Linked DNA regions of Homo sapiens: all the other regions are linked to region 5. The links are contacts of gene promoters, found by promoter capture Hi-C in blood cells and fetal thymus (Javierre and others, 2016). All regions are on one chromosome and are shown on one strand. Each heading gives the region's core, a stretch centred on a gene start or on the middle of the fragment in contact. The rest is flanking DNA. Distances are from core to core; before and after follow the strand shown.

The links. The method cuts DNA at HindIII sites, captures the fragments that hold promoters and counts their contacts. A CHiCAGO score of 5 or more calls a contact.
Region 1: a fragment that was not itself captured here is called in contact with the fragment with the promoter of PHKA2 in region 5 in 4 of 17 cell types (neutrophils, total CD8 T cells, total B cells and 1 more); the score reaches 6.1 in neutrophils.
Region 2: a contact is called between a fragment that was not itself captured here and the fragment with the promoter of PHKA2 in region 5, in 1 of 17 cell types (naive CD8 T cells). The highest score is 5.1, in naive CD8 T cells.
Region 3: a fragment that was not itself captured here is called in contact with the fragment with the promoter of PHKA2 in region 5 in 6 of 17 cell types (M1 macrophages, naive CD8 T cells, monocytes and 3 more); the score reaches 7.3 in M1 macrophages.
Region 4: a contact is called between a fragment that was not itself captured here and the fragment with the promoter of PHKA2 in region 5, in 1 of 17 cell types (naive B cells). The highest score is 5.1, in naive B cells.

What each region holds. Positions count from the first base shown.
Region 1 is chrX:18,440,031-18,442,730 of GRCh38, reverse strand. All of the region lies in intron 1 of CDKL5 (cyclin dependent kinase like 5), which reads right to left. Among named protein-coding and RNA genes, the nearest start is that of CDKL5, 16 kb to the right of the region's middle. RefSeq lists enhancers at 1-152, 153-654. The HindIII fragment of the contact is 3,075 bases long and covers 1-2,700 here.
Region 2 is chrX:18,377,732-18,380,431 of GRCh38, reverse strand. No RefSeq gene overlaps it. Among named protein-coding and RNA genes, the nearest start is that of SCML2, 24 kb to the right of the region's middle. The HindIII fragment of the contact is 6,947 bases long and covers 1-2,700 here.
Region 3 is chrX:18,401,308-18,404,007 of GRCh38, reverse strand. No RefSeq gene overlaps it. Among named protein-coding and RNA genes, the nearest start is that of CDKL5, 23 kb to the left of the region's middle. The HindIII fragment of the contact is 3,599 bases long and covers 1-2,700 here.
Region 4 is chrX:18,344,786-18,347,485 of GRCh38, reverse strand. The region is part of intron 1 of SCML2 (Scm polycomb group protein like 2); the gene reads left to right. Among named protein-coding and RNA genes, the nearest start is that of SCML2, 8.6 kb to the left of the region's middle. The HindIII fragment of the contact is 2,162 bases long and covers 305-2,466 here.
Region 5 is chrX:18,982,814-18,985,513 of GRCh38, reverse strand. PHKA2 (phosphorylase kinase regulatory subunit alpha 2) reads left to right here and starts at 1,400. Exons shown (of 33, transcript NM_000292.3): 1 at 1,400-1,659. The coding sequence starts at 1,582. RefSeq lists enhancers at 566-615, 597-1,097, 1,098-1,598 and a silencer at 716-1,405. The HindIII fragment of the contact is 8,902 bases long and covers 1-2,700 here.

The sequences.
Region 1 (2,700 bases), core at 92-2,591, 540 kb after region 5:
CGAGGTCAAGAGATTGAGATCATCCTGGCTAACATGGTGAAACCCCGTCTCTACCAAAAATACAAAAAAAGTAGCCGGGCGTGGAGGCGGGCACCTGTAGTCCCAGCTACTCGGGAGGCTGAGGCAGGAGAATGGCGTGAACCCGGGAGGCGGAGCTTGCAGTGAGCCGAGATCGCGCCACAGCACTTCAGCCTGGGCGAAAGAGCGAAACTCCGCCTCAAAACAAAACAAAACAAAACAAAACAAAACAAAACAAAACAAAAAAACCAACAGAGCAACCAGTTGGCTCAAAAACTAAGGAGAGTACCTGAAGGGAGAGAGGAGACGACCATGTGCTCGCCTGTTGGAGAGTACAGCTGGACACCAAAAAGAACGGGTAGAAGAGTCAGTAAATGCGTGAAATCCAATGTGGCTTGCTGAAAAGATAGTGTGAAACCACTGGGGGTCACAGAAATTGAGGATATGATACCTCAACTTCCTGTAGGGTCTTCCTCCTCCAACTCCCCCACCCCACTCACTCAGAGCTCTAAAGAGTCCTGAGGTAGGCTCATTGTGATGCAAACCTGGGGGTGGGCAGCAGCTAAGCCTGAGAGGCTGGACACTACCCTCAGATCACTCTCCCCTATCTCCACTCAGGAAGACAAGCCTTCACTGTGACAGAAAGGACAATGGTTACTTCTACCCTTAAGACAATAGTGAAAAATCAGAGCAGCAGGGAGGAGGGGTGGGGGCCCAAGTCCTGGGAGAGGGGTAGGATTCCACATTGAGCCCAATACAACAGCCAGGGAAGGGGCAAGATCCTGAGAGTCAGGCCTGAAACTGAGGCTTAATCAAGAACAGAGACCACATCCTATCACCCCTCCCCACCTCCAAGCAAACAAACTTCCAGGAACAGTAAGAGCAGAATATCACTGAGAAAGGGACGGGAGAAAATCAAGAGTATGTAAAGAGACCCTCACTAAAGCACACTTCGAAGGGGAGACCTGAAATTTAGACTGGAACAGACACTGTTCTGGTAAACCAATTCCCACCCTGATCACAAAGTATCTCTAAGAGAATTTGAAAACTGGGGTACACTAGGTTAACCATAACAACACAAAAAAACTCAAATCCAGCCCAATGTAACAGTGAAAAGGAAGCCTAGCATGACTAACATCATTTTGCTTCTAAGCCCCCCCACCACCACCCAGTGAAACCATCTAACTATGGGAGAAATTCAGTTTATAGTTTAAAGCAAATAGTCCCTTCTGAAAACCCCTGAAGAGATAGGGGCAGTGTACACACAAGTAACAACGTTGTTAATGATTTTTTTTTTTGAGACAGGGTCTCACTCTGTCACCCAGGCTAGAGTGCAGTGGTGCAATCATGGCTCACTGCAGCCTCGACCTCCTGGGCTCAGGTGATCCTCCCACCTCAGCCTCCTGAGTAGCGGGACTACAGGTGTGTGCCACCACACCCAGCTAATTTTTGTATTTTTGATAGAGACGGTGTTTCACCATGTTGCCCAGGCTGGTCTTGAACTCCTAGACTCAAGTTATCTGCCTGACTCGGCTTCCCAAAGTGCTAGGATTACAGGAGTGAGCCACCATGCCCAGCCATGTTAAAGATTTATAGTATTGTGACCTGACCAAGGACAAAGAAGTTTCACAACCTCCACAGACCCTCACTGCCACCTAGATGTCTGTGGTCATCATAGTCATCTCTTGACCTCAACCTCCTCCCTCTTCCCTCTTCCTCTAACATAAAAGGAGGCGAAAATTCATATTAAGATGGTTCTTTCGGACATTACTAGTCCACCATCTTCTCAGGTTGCTGGCTCTCCAAATAAGGTTGCTTTCTTTGCGCCAACACCTTGTCTCTTAACTTATTGGCTGTCATTTGGTGAGTAGTACAACCTTGGACTTGGCTACACCAATTCCTAACTAGATTAACTCAAATACCAGCACTAACGGCCTAGCAGAAGGAAAGACATACCCATTTAAAGACACAAAGATTATATGGAGGCTGAAGTGGGTGGATCACCTGAGGTCAGGAGTTCGAGACCAGCCTGACCAACACAGTGAAACGCCGTCTCTACTAAAAATACAAAATTACCTAGGTGTGGTGGCACATGCCTGTAATCTCAGCTACTTGGGAGGCTGAGGCAGGAGAATTGCTTGAACCCGGGAGGCAGAGGTTGCAGTGAGCCAAGATAGTGCCATTGTGCTACAGTCTGGGCAACAAGAGCAAAACTCCGTCTAAAAAAACCCAAAACACACACAAAAAAATGATATGGCCAGGTGCAGTGGTTCACACCTACAATCCTACCACTTTGGGAGGCCAAGGCAAGAGGAGCCTGAAGATATGACTGAATTGCTGTGATCTCATGATAAAACATGAATGGACAAAGGAGTTGCTGCTTATGGAAGAACAAAGGAACTGTTTTTCTGAGATGAAATCTACTGGTAAAGATGCCTTAAACATTTTTGAAATGACTATTTCAAAAATACACTACTCTATAAACTTAGTTGATAAAGCAGCAGCAGGCTTGGAGAAATAGTTCTAATGTGGGTAAAACGCTATCAAACAGCATCGTATGCTACAGAAGAACCTACAATGAAAGGAACAGTCAACAGATATGGCAAACTTCATTGCTGTCCTATTTTAAGAAACTGCCACAGATCCCCCAACCTTCAGCAACCACCATCCTGATCAGTCAGT
Region 2 (2,700 bases), core at 44-2,543, 600 kb after region 5:
TGTGTGGATATCAGCAAATTGCTTCTAAAGTTTATACGGAGGGGCAAAAGACCCAGAATAGCCACCACAATACTGAAGATCAGTGTTAGAGGACTGACACTACCTGACTTCAAGATCTACTAAAAAGCTACAGTAATCAAGACAGTGTGGTATTCGCATAAGAATAGACAAATAGATCAATGGAATGGAATAGAGAGCTCAGAAATTGACTCACACAAATATAGTCTACTCTTTTTTTTTTTTTTTTTTGAGACAGAGTCTCACTCTGTCGCCCAGGATGGAGTGCAGTGGTGTGATCTTGGCTCACTGCAACCTCCACCTCCCACGTTCAAGCAATTCTTGTGTCTCAGCCTCCCGAGTAGCTGGGATTACAGGCACGCACCACCACGCTCAGCTAATTTTTGTATTTTTAGTAGAGACAGGGTTTCCCCATGTTGGCCAGACTGGTCTTGAACTCCTTGACCTCAGGTGATCCACCCACCTTCACCTCCCAAAGTGCTGGGATTACAGATGGAGCCACCATGCCCGGCCCCCTAGGTTCTGACAAGTAGTCATCTTTACCTAAAACTCAGTTAACATGATTTGTTTTCATACTATTCATTCCTTTTGAAATTTTATTTAAAAAATTGATATATGATTCACCCCTGTAATCTCACATCTATAATCCCAGCACTTCGTGAGGCTGAGGCAGGTGGATCACCTGAGGTCAGGAGTTTGAGACCAGCCTGGCTAACATGGTGAAACCCCATCTCTACTAAAAATACAAAAATTAGCCTGGCGTGGTGGCAGCCACCTGTAATCCCAGCTACTTGGGAGGCCGAGGCAGGAGAATTGCTTGAACCCGAGAGGCAGAGGTTGCGGTGAGCTGAGATCTCGCCATTGCACTCTAGCCTGGGCAGTAGAGTGAGATTCTGTCTCAAAAAAAACAAAACAAAAAAACCACACAAAAACTTACAAAACATAACCTATGTACAAAAATGCATACTAAACATATGTACTTTTTATTTTAAAGGAAGAAACAATCTAATGTAAGTCACCTATGTCAACAAAACAGAATATTACAGAACTCCCCCACATGTAAGTAACCTCCTGGATCATGACTCTTAACCTCCTCCCCAGAGGTAACTCCTAACTCATAATAAATCCAGTTCTTGTTTTTCACATGTGTTTGTTTTTGTTTTACACTGAGGTGTGCATCCTGGATTTGAGTATTGTATGGATGGGATGGAGTCTTACCCTTTGGATTCGTTCTCTCTCTCTCTCCTTTTGCTGAACATTATGATTTTGAGGTATCATCCATGTCTCAATGTATAGTTGTGTATTTTCATTCTATAGAGTATTCATTCTATTGAACGAGTATGCCACAATTTAATTTGCGTTTTACTATAGATGGACTTCGGGTTTTCCATTTGGGGTTATTATAAATTATGCCGTTATGAAGTTTTTTTTGTTTTTTAGAGACAGGGTCTCGTTCTGTTGCCTAGGTGGGAGTGCAGTTGTGCTATCACAGCTCATTGTGGCCTCAACCTCCTGGGCTCAGGTGATCCTCCCTCAGCCTCCTGAGTAGCTCGGACTACAGGTATGTGACACCACACCCAGTTAATTTTTTGTATTTTTAAAATAGAGACAGAGTCTCCCTATGTTGCCCAGGCTGGTCTCGAACTCCTGGACTCAAGCGATCCACCCACCTTGGCCTCCCAAAGTGCTGGGATTACAGGCATGAGCCACTGCACCTGGAAAGATTCTTAAACACTTACCTTGATGTACAATGTGCATACACATGTTTCTCTGGGGCATAGACATAGGGTAGAACTGCCCACAGGCTATGCTCTCTTCAACTTTATTAGATAATGCCAAACTGAGCTCATATCCAGTTACTTGGGTGTGAGACTTCCAGGCAAAAAAGTTGTTTAAATTTTTTTTTTTTTTTTTTTAGAGACAGAGTGTTGCTCTGTCACTTAGGCTGGAATGCAGTGGCGCAATCTCAGCTTACTACAACCTCTGCCTCCCAGGTTCAAGCAATTCTCCTGCCTCAGCTTCCCAAGTAGCTGGGACTACAGGTGTGTGCCACCACACTCGGCTAATTTTTGTATTTTTTAGCAGAGATGGGGTTTCACTATATGCTGGCCAGGCTGGTCTCGAACTCCTGACCTCAGGTGATTTGCCTGCCTCAGCCTCCCAAAGTGCTGGGATTACAGGCATGAGCCACTGCACCTGGCCTAAAAAGTTGTTTAAAAAAGATAATGCCAAATTGTTTTCCAAAGTAGTTGTACTAATTTACACTCCCACCCGAGGCATATGACAGTTCCTATGCTCCACATTATCAGAACCTGATATTGTCAGTCTTTTCCCTACTTTGTAATACTGGAGCTGCACCTGCGCAACCTACATTTTGTGTTTTGGCAGCCGGCTCCATGTTATACTCTGCCAATAGGGGGCACTGAAGGACTTTTCTGCTTCCTGTTTGCTGCTTTGTTTCTCCTCACTGCTGGGACTCACTTGATGGGCGCAGTGTAGCACTGGCCCCGTGGCATTCCCTGTGCAGGCATCCGGTGAGTTTCCTCCTCACTGTGGTGATGGGTGGTGGCTTCCTGCAGAAGCTGCAAAATTCTTTTCTTTCCTTTTGTTTTTGTTTTGATACAGTCTCTCTCTGTCGCCCAGGCTGGAGTGCAGTGGTTTGATCATGGCTCACTGCAGCCT
Region 3 (2,700 bases), core at 135-2,634, 580 kb after region 5:
ATTGTATATTTATTTACTTTTTTTTTTGAGACAGAGTCTTGCTCTGTCCCCTAGGCTGGAGTGCAGTGGCACAATCTCGGCTCACTGCAACCTCTGCCTCCCAGGTTCAAGCGATTGTATATTGATTTAAAGTTGTTTGTACGGAGGTGAGGGCTGAAGAGATTACTCGTGGCATCCAAGCCTCCCTCGCCCCAAGGCCTTTCTTTCCATGACCAAATCCACCTAAACCTCATCTGATTTTCTTTTCTTTTCCTTGAAACAGGGTCTCGCTCTGTCACCCAGGCTGGAGTGTAGTGGTGCAATCTTGACTCACTGTAATCTCCGCCTCCTGGGTTCCAGCAATTCTTGTGCCTCAGCCTCCCTAGTAGCTGGGATTACAGGCATGAGCCACCTATACCTGGCTACTTTTTATGCTTTTAGTAGAGACGGGGTTTCACCATGTTGCCCAGGCTGGTCTCAAATTCCTGAGCTCAAGTGATCCACCCCATCTCGGCCTCCCAAAGTACTGGGATTACAGGTGTGAGCCACCACACCCCGCCCTCATCTGATTTTCTTTGAGCTGTTGCCTGTTTCACTCTGTGACCTCATTTCTCAGCACTTCCCAGCTCTGACACCTGCTCAATCCTAAAACCAAGCAAATCTGTCTGCTGCCGCCTTTAGCCCACAACCAGCTGGCCTCTAGACCTGGGCCTCAGTGTACTTCATGTTCCCTCCCTCCTGCCTTCTCTCCATTTCCTCGTATGATGCAGTAGCCAGTGTATGCACTCACAGCTCTGTGCCCAAACAAGAACCACAGGCGCTCCTCCACTGTATTCATCTGCTCAGTCTGTTGCAACAAAGTGCCACAATCTGGGCAGTTTAATAACAGACATTTATTATCTCGAAGTTCTGGAGGCCAGAAGTGTGAGAACAAGGTGTCCGCAGGGTTGGCTCCTTCTGAGGGCTGTGAGAGCCTCTTCCTCAGCTTCTGGTGGTTTGCTGGCAATCCTTGGCATTACTTGGCTTGTAGATGCATCACTTTGTGTATTAGTCTGTTCTTGCGTTGCTATAAAGAACTACCTGAGGCTGGGTGTGGTGGCTCATGGCTGTAATCCCAGCACTTTGGGAGGCTGAGGTGGGTGGATCACTGGAGGCCAGGAGTTCAAGACCAGCCTGGCCAACATGGCAAAACCCTGTCTCTACTAAGAATACAAAAATTAGCCAGGCGTGGTGGTGCGCACCTGTAATCGCAGCTACTAGGGAGGCTGAGGCAAGAGAATCACTTGAACCCGGGAGGCAGAGGTTGCAGTGAGCGGAAATCGCACCACCGCACTCCAGTATGGGCGACAGAGTGACACTCTGTCTCAAAAACAAACAAAACAAAACAAAAAAAGAATGGGGGTGATGTTAAAAGTTCTAGAGCAGGAATTCTTACCCTGAGATCCAGGGTTTATTTCCAGAGGGAGCTATGGCTCACCCACATTACATGCAGAATGTGGATTGGTTGTGTGCACTCCTACGACTGTCTTAGGGGATGGTCCATGTTTTTCACCAGATTTTCAGAGGCCAGGACTCACAAGAGTTACAACCTCTGTTTGAGAGACTAAAAGGCTTGTGTCCAGCAGAAGCGACTGAACAGTGAACCCCAGGTCCCTCTCACACCCAAGCAGGACTCCAGCGGGCAGAGGGCTCTCGCGATCACCGCAGCTTTCCTTAGCAATGGGGCTCTCTGGCTCGGCTTTTCCTTCCCACTGTCACCACTTGTGCTTTCATTCCTGACCCCACTTCACTTAGCCTGCCCCCTCCCCTCATCCCTGAGGCCATCCTATGGTGCCTGATGAGGCCAGTTCCCCTGCATTCTAAACCGAATTTCTTGCTGTCTCCCTACCTCCATCCCCTGGCCTCAGCTGAAACCTGTGTCTGCCAGGACAGCAAGTCCCCAGGTCTCCAAATCTTCCCTGTATCAGCCATCAGAGGGGGTCATGGTGGGGCAAGGGTCTGATCCCTGAGCTGCTATGCACTTGGGCCTCCCCACTGGGGGTTTACTCGACCCAGCTAACCCCAGAGATGGGAGGTCAAGGATAGGGCCTTGGGAGGCTGGAATCAAAGGAGAGCAAGCCGGTTTCAGAGTAAGAGTGTCTGCAGTCGGACCCAGGATGCTGGTTGGAGCAATGTGGGTTATGATGACCCAGAGAGACAAATCTAGTCAGAGGCCACCTGAGACTCCACTGGAAAGACCAAATACAAACATGTGTTCCAAAGGCCGGAGACAAGATCAATATTTTTTTGCAAAGCTAAGAGTTAACACACAGAGGGAGACCAAACTCAGACAAAAAAACAGGACAGGGACAAATGAGAAGGATCCAGGACCATCATCCTGGTTGGACTCAGGCATCTGCTTGTATAAAGGCAGTACAGTGGTTAAGAGCATGGACTCTGGCACCGGACCGCTTACATTCAAATTCTGGCTCATCCGCTTCCCAGCTGTGTGACCTTGGGCAACTTACTTAAGTGCTGCCTTCCTCAGTTTACCCATCTACAAAATGGGGAATACTAATCACACTTACCTCTTGGGCTTGTTGAGAGAATTGAGTGGTTTAACACATGTGAAGGATTTAGAATGGTGCCTGGCACACCGTAAGTAAGTGTCAGCTGATATTATAAAGTCCGCACATGGTGATTCACAGGCAGGCCCTTGTGAGTTCAATATCCATGTGAACA
Region 4 (2,700 bases), core at 136-2,635, 640 kb after region 5:
GCCCCTGCGCCCGGCCTAAAAATGTTCTTTTTTTTTTTTTGAAATGGAATTTTACTCTTGTCACTCAGGCTGGGGTGCAATGGCACTATCTTGGCTCACTGCAACCTCCCCCTCCCAGATTCAAGCGATTCTCCTGTCTCAGCCTGCCAGGTAGCTGGGACTACAGGTGCCCGCCACCACACCCGGCTAATTTTTGTATTTTTGGTAGAGACGGGGTTTTACCATGTTGGCCAGTCTGGTCTCAAACTCTTGACCTCAGGTGATTCACCCGCCTCAGCCTCCCAAAGTGCTGGGATTACAAGCTTGAGCCACCGCACCCGGCTTGTTCTTTCTTAATATTGATTAGTCTTAATTCAGAGATAGAATTTTAGTTTTAAATGTAATTACAGTATTAGAATTTAGTGTTTTTCTGATTACTTTTATAACTATGTCAGAAAATGTGACATTTGATTATTTACTTGAGTGAATTGAATAGATACTTGTGGAATCTTAATGTGATGACTCATGTTCAATTCCACAAAATTATGTATGGTTATACAATGGAATATACACTTTTTCTATCCTGTATTAGGATAATCACTATTACCAGAAACAAAATCTTAGTTGAAAGAGAGAGCTTCTCTTGGTCAAAGAAAAAATACATAACTACAGTGTATTTTAATTAAATCAGTATTTTTTTTTGCATTTAGGCATAAATGTGAAGTACTTCTTGAAACAAAATAATAAACTATTTACAAGTTAAAAACATAAAGGTGTTATTTTATGCAGTTAACTCAGACCTTCCCCTTCACAATAAAGGACAGCGTTTTTGTTTGTTCAAGTCTAAAAGTAGTGTCTTTATAACAAGATAGATTTTAAAAGGAAAAGAACCCTTTCTACCTGTGCTATTTAATTAATCTCTGGTAAATTGTGTATGTATAATAACTTCCGTCACTTATTCCAACATTTTCTTTAAAACACCAGCAAACGTATTTGTGAATCTCTCTTATCCTTGAAACTTCTTATGCTGTTGATAAACTCAAGGGGCTATGATGAAACATTTTTTTCAATAGATTATTTTGTGAATAGGGACTTGGCTTGTTGTTTCTTTTTTTGGTGAATATTGGTTTAAAGCACATGTTTTAGTTATACCTGTTATGTAGTTGGCATTTATAAACTGAATTCTATAATGGTAACTCATACGGAGCCTGACTTTTTGAGACCATGAACATCCTAGAAAGAGATAAAATTCAGAGTAAAAAAAAAAGGCCAATCAACTTCTGGGAAAGAGAGAGATATTGGAGGTGGGGGATTGTCTCAGATCTCACAGAATTTTCTCCTTGGCCCATTGACTTAGACTTGTGTGTAAATTAAGACAGCTGATTTGATATTGCAGGAAAGAACAGAGAACAACAATGATGGCCAAAAGAAAAATCTCGGCCGAGCGCCGTGGCTTACGTGAGCCTGTAATCCCGGCACTTTGGGAGGCTGAGGCAGGAGGATCATTTGAGCTCAGGAGTTTGAGACCAGTATGGGCAACTTAGTGAGCCATCGTCTCTACTAAAATTAAAAAAAAAAAAAAAATTAGTTGCTGAGCTTGTTGGCACATGCCTATAGTCCCAGCTACTTTGTGTGTGTGTGTGTCGGGGGTAGGGGGTGTGCAGGGGGTGTGCTGAGGCAGGACAATCACTTAAGGCCGGGAGGTCAGGCTGCAGTGAGCCCTGATTATGCCACTGAACTCCAGCCTGGGCAACAGAGTGAGACCCTGTCTCAAAACAAAGAATAAAAGAAAAATTTTATCAAAAAATTGTTTTAGTCCATGTGTGGTGGCTTACACCTCTAATTCCAGCACTTTGAGAGGCTGAGGCAAGAGGATTCATTGAGCCCAGGAGTTTGAGACCAGCCTGGGCAACATGGAAAAACTCTGTCACTACAAAAAATACAAAAATTAGCCAGGTATGGTGGTGTGTGCCTGTAGTCCCAGCTACTAGGGAGGGTGAGGTGGGAGGATCACCTGAGCCCGGGGAGGTTGAGGTTGTAGCGAGCTATGATCACTCCACTGCACTCCAGCCTGGGTGACAGAGAGACCCTGTTTCAAAAAAAAAATTGTTTTTAAAAACCACAGTATTCTGGTTCTATATAGTTTAGATACAAGCAGCCTATAGCACAGCAGAGTTTACTCATTCAGCAAACATTTTGGGGACCCTAGTATGTGATAGACACTGTGCTCGTTATTCTGAAGGATATAAAGAAGAACGAGATGTGATACTGCCCCCAGGAGCTTATTGTCTAGCACGGGAGAAAAGGCACTTACACAGTTAAACACAACAAAGGCAGTTTTAGCACAATGGTTAAGCATTCATGAACCTAGATTCAAACCTAGCTGGGTGATCTTGGGCAGGTCTTTGAGCCTCAATATCCTTAACTTTCAAATGAACATTAATGGACATTAATAACAGTATCTACTATGCAGGCTTGTAATAAGCTTTAGATAAGAAAAAATACATATATAAAAGCCTTAGGGTAGGGTACCAGGCATTCATTAATAGCAAGAGCTCAGTAAGTAACAGATCTGAGTAGTAGTATCACCACTGCCAACACCATTATCATTGAATCTCTGGGAACATAACTTTTGTTTTCTCCTGCCCTCATGGATCCGTTTTGTCTAGGGTATCTGGTATATTATAATATCTCCTTGTATTAGTCTGTTTTCACGCTGCC
Region 5 (2,700 bases), core at 151-2,650:
CAAAGGTCATACGACTTGTAAATGACAGAACTGACATTTGAACTCAAAATGAACTGACTCTAAGTCCTAAGCTCTTACTAAACCAATGGCTACAGAAATTCAGAAAATGGGGAAGGCTAATAGAGGAGCTGAGCTGGCCGTTAAGGGAAAGATAGGCTTCAGTTAGTCAAGGAGGAGGAAGAAGGGCCGAAGGGGTCAAGCATAGAGTAAATGCATGGAGACTGGAAAAGAGCTTGCGGAAATTGATTGCATTAGTCTAGCTGTCCAGTAAATTCCTATGTGGGCCAGATTTTGGTGGACAATGAATACCAGGCCGAAGATTGTGAACTGTAGGTTATCAGCAGCCACGAAACATTATAATGAATGCCAAGTTTCAAGCTGTAGACCCGTGGGAGATGAACTGCGAACCTGCCCGAGGAAGCGGCGCCCAAGTGGCTAGGGGCGGGGTCACAGGCGCCAGAGGTGTCGCTGGGGCACCTCTCCGGGCCTTCCCCCTTTTTCTTCCGGGCTGGGTCCCGCTACTCCAGTTCCGCTAGGCGGCGGAGACGGGGCCAGAGGTGGGACTACAATCTTGGCCCTCAGAGGGGTGCCCAGGCGGCCGCGGTAGGCGGCCCTCTTTCTCCGGCCTCGAGTGGGACTGGCACCCGTCTCGGGGGGCTCCACACTACCACGCAGGAAAGCCAACTCGTCCGCCGCCCGAAGCCGGGTTCCCCTAGACTCCCACGGGCCGCCTCCTTTTTCGTCCCCCCCGAGGCCGCGACTCTGAGGGTTCCGCTCTGCGGCGGAGGTGGGGCCAGGGGCGGGGATGTGGGCGGGGCCGTGAGGTCGTTCCAGGGCGCGGGGCGGGGCCGCCCCCTTACCTGTGCCCCTCAGGGTTCCAAACGTTCCACTCCGCGGCAGGGGCGGGGGCGAGTCCGGAGGGCGGGTCCAAGGCGCCCAGGTGGCCGCGGCAGAAGGGCCTGTTTCTCTGGCCTTGGCTGTGGTTGGCAGCCGGCCGGGGAGAGAAGGGACTCAGGGAGGCAACCTGGTTCCCGCCCGTTGCTGATTTCGCAGCGGCTCTCCCGGGCCGCCCCCTTTTCCTTCCTCCTCAGGCCGCGACTTGGAGGGTTCCGCTCCGCGGCGGGGGCAGAGCCAGGGGCGGGGCTGAGCGCGGCCTGGGCGATCTCCCCGGCGGCTGGGGTGGGCTGGCGTCTTCTTCGCGCCCGGGGGACCTCCTCGCGACCGCCGGGACGTAAAAGGGGCTTGGCAGGGGCGTCCTCGCCCCACTCCCGGAACCTGGTTTCCCGCTGCTCCCGCGAGCGTCGGGAGCCCAGCAGGCCTGGCCGAGGCGGGACCTTCGTCGCTCCAGCCCCCGTCCCCGCCCCCGCGCCTCCCCGCCGCGCGGAGCTCTGGTTGGCTTGCTTTCCAACCGGACTTTGGGGCTAGCGTTTAGAAAAGTCTCGACCTCCTCCGGCCCGGTCCCATCCCAAGAACCGACTAAGGCTGTGAGTGTCCGGGAACCAGACCCGCTTGGAGGCCACAGCCCCGACGTCCCGCGCCCACGCGGCAGATCGGGCGCTGCGGCCTGGGAGCCTCGGGGAGATGCGGAGCAGGAGCAATTCCGGGGTCCGCTTGGACGGGTACGCGCGGCTGGTGCAGCAAACCATCCTGTGTTACCAGGTAAGGAGGGACCGCCCCCAGGGAACGCGTGGAACTACCCTCTCATGTAACTCATTCTCCTTCCCAGGTCTGGCCCTCTTGTGACCTGAGACCTTGCAATTAAGAGTTTGCTATTTGAATCTAGTCCTTGCTAGCCAGTGATTACCACCCCATTGCCACCCCGTGCTCCTTAAGATTCAGGGGACCTAACTGTTGCTACGGCTACTTTTCACAGAATTCTTTGGCCATTGTTCAGGATGAGAATGAGCCGCCTCCGTGCCCGGGTCCAAACTGCCTCTTTTTGCATTGACTCTGCTTTTTTTGGACGAGAAGAGGTGTGGGGGGTTTGGACAGACTACACTGAATGAGAACAGTAGACAGGAGTGAAGAAGCTCCTGAAGTTTACGCAGGACTCTGCAGTGTGGGGCGACAGCTACCGTCCCTCCCATGAGCTGTCTTGGTAGAGACCCACCTGGGAAGCCCTTAGGGGCTACTTTGGTTGCTATTTTACAGATAAGAAAATTGTGAGGCTAGAAAGGTCACTGCATGTAGCAGGTCAGACCCAAAGGCTCCCAAGCTCACAGGGTCCTATGACACTGCCCATGTGGTCCGAGGTATGAATTTGCCTGCTATGCTTTGTATTCCTGGGCTAAAATTATGTGTGGGTCCATCAGTGTAAGACCACTGAACTATTTTTATTCCTAGTGAAGACAGCAGCTATGTTTCTTGCCCTCAATCAACAGCAACTATTTATAGGGCCTTCAAAGTCAACGAAGGAAGTGGCATTCAGGGGTTAGAGGCCTGACCTGCAAGTTGGGAGCCATGGTCATTTCCAAGGCACTGACCATTTTCCCTTCTTAACTAATTTCTTAGCCTTGTTTCCTCACTTAGGAAATATTTGTGGTGTATCTGTTATATGCAAAGCACTCTACAAAGTGCTGGGGTTACAAGAATAAATGATCGTAGTGCAGTAACATTTATGCATAAGGTATAGGTCCAAAGTCCCTTAATCTGTTTTCTTTGTTGTTGTTTGTTTGTTTTTGAGACAGGGTCTCACTCTGT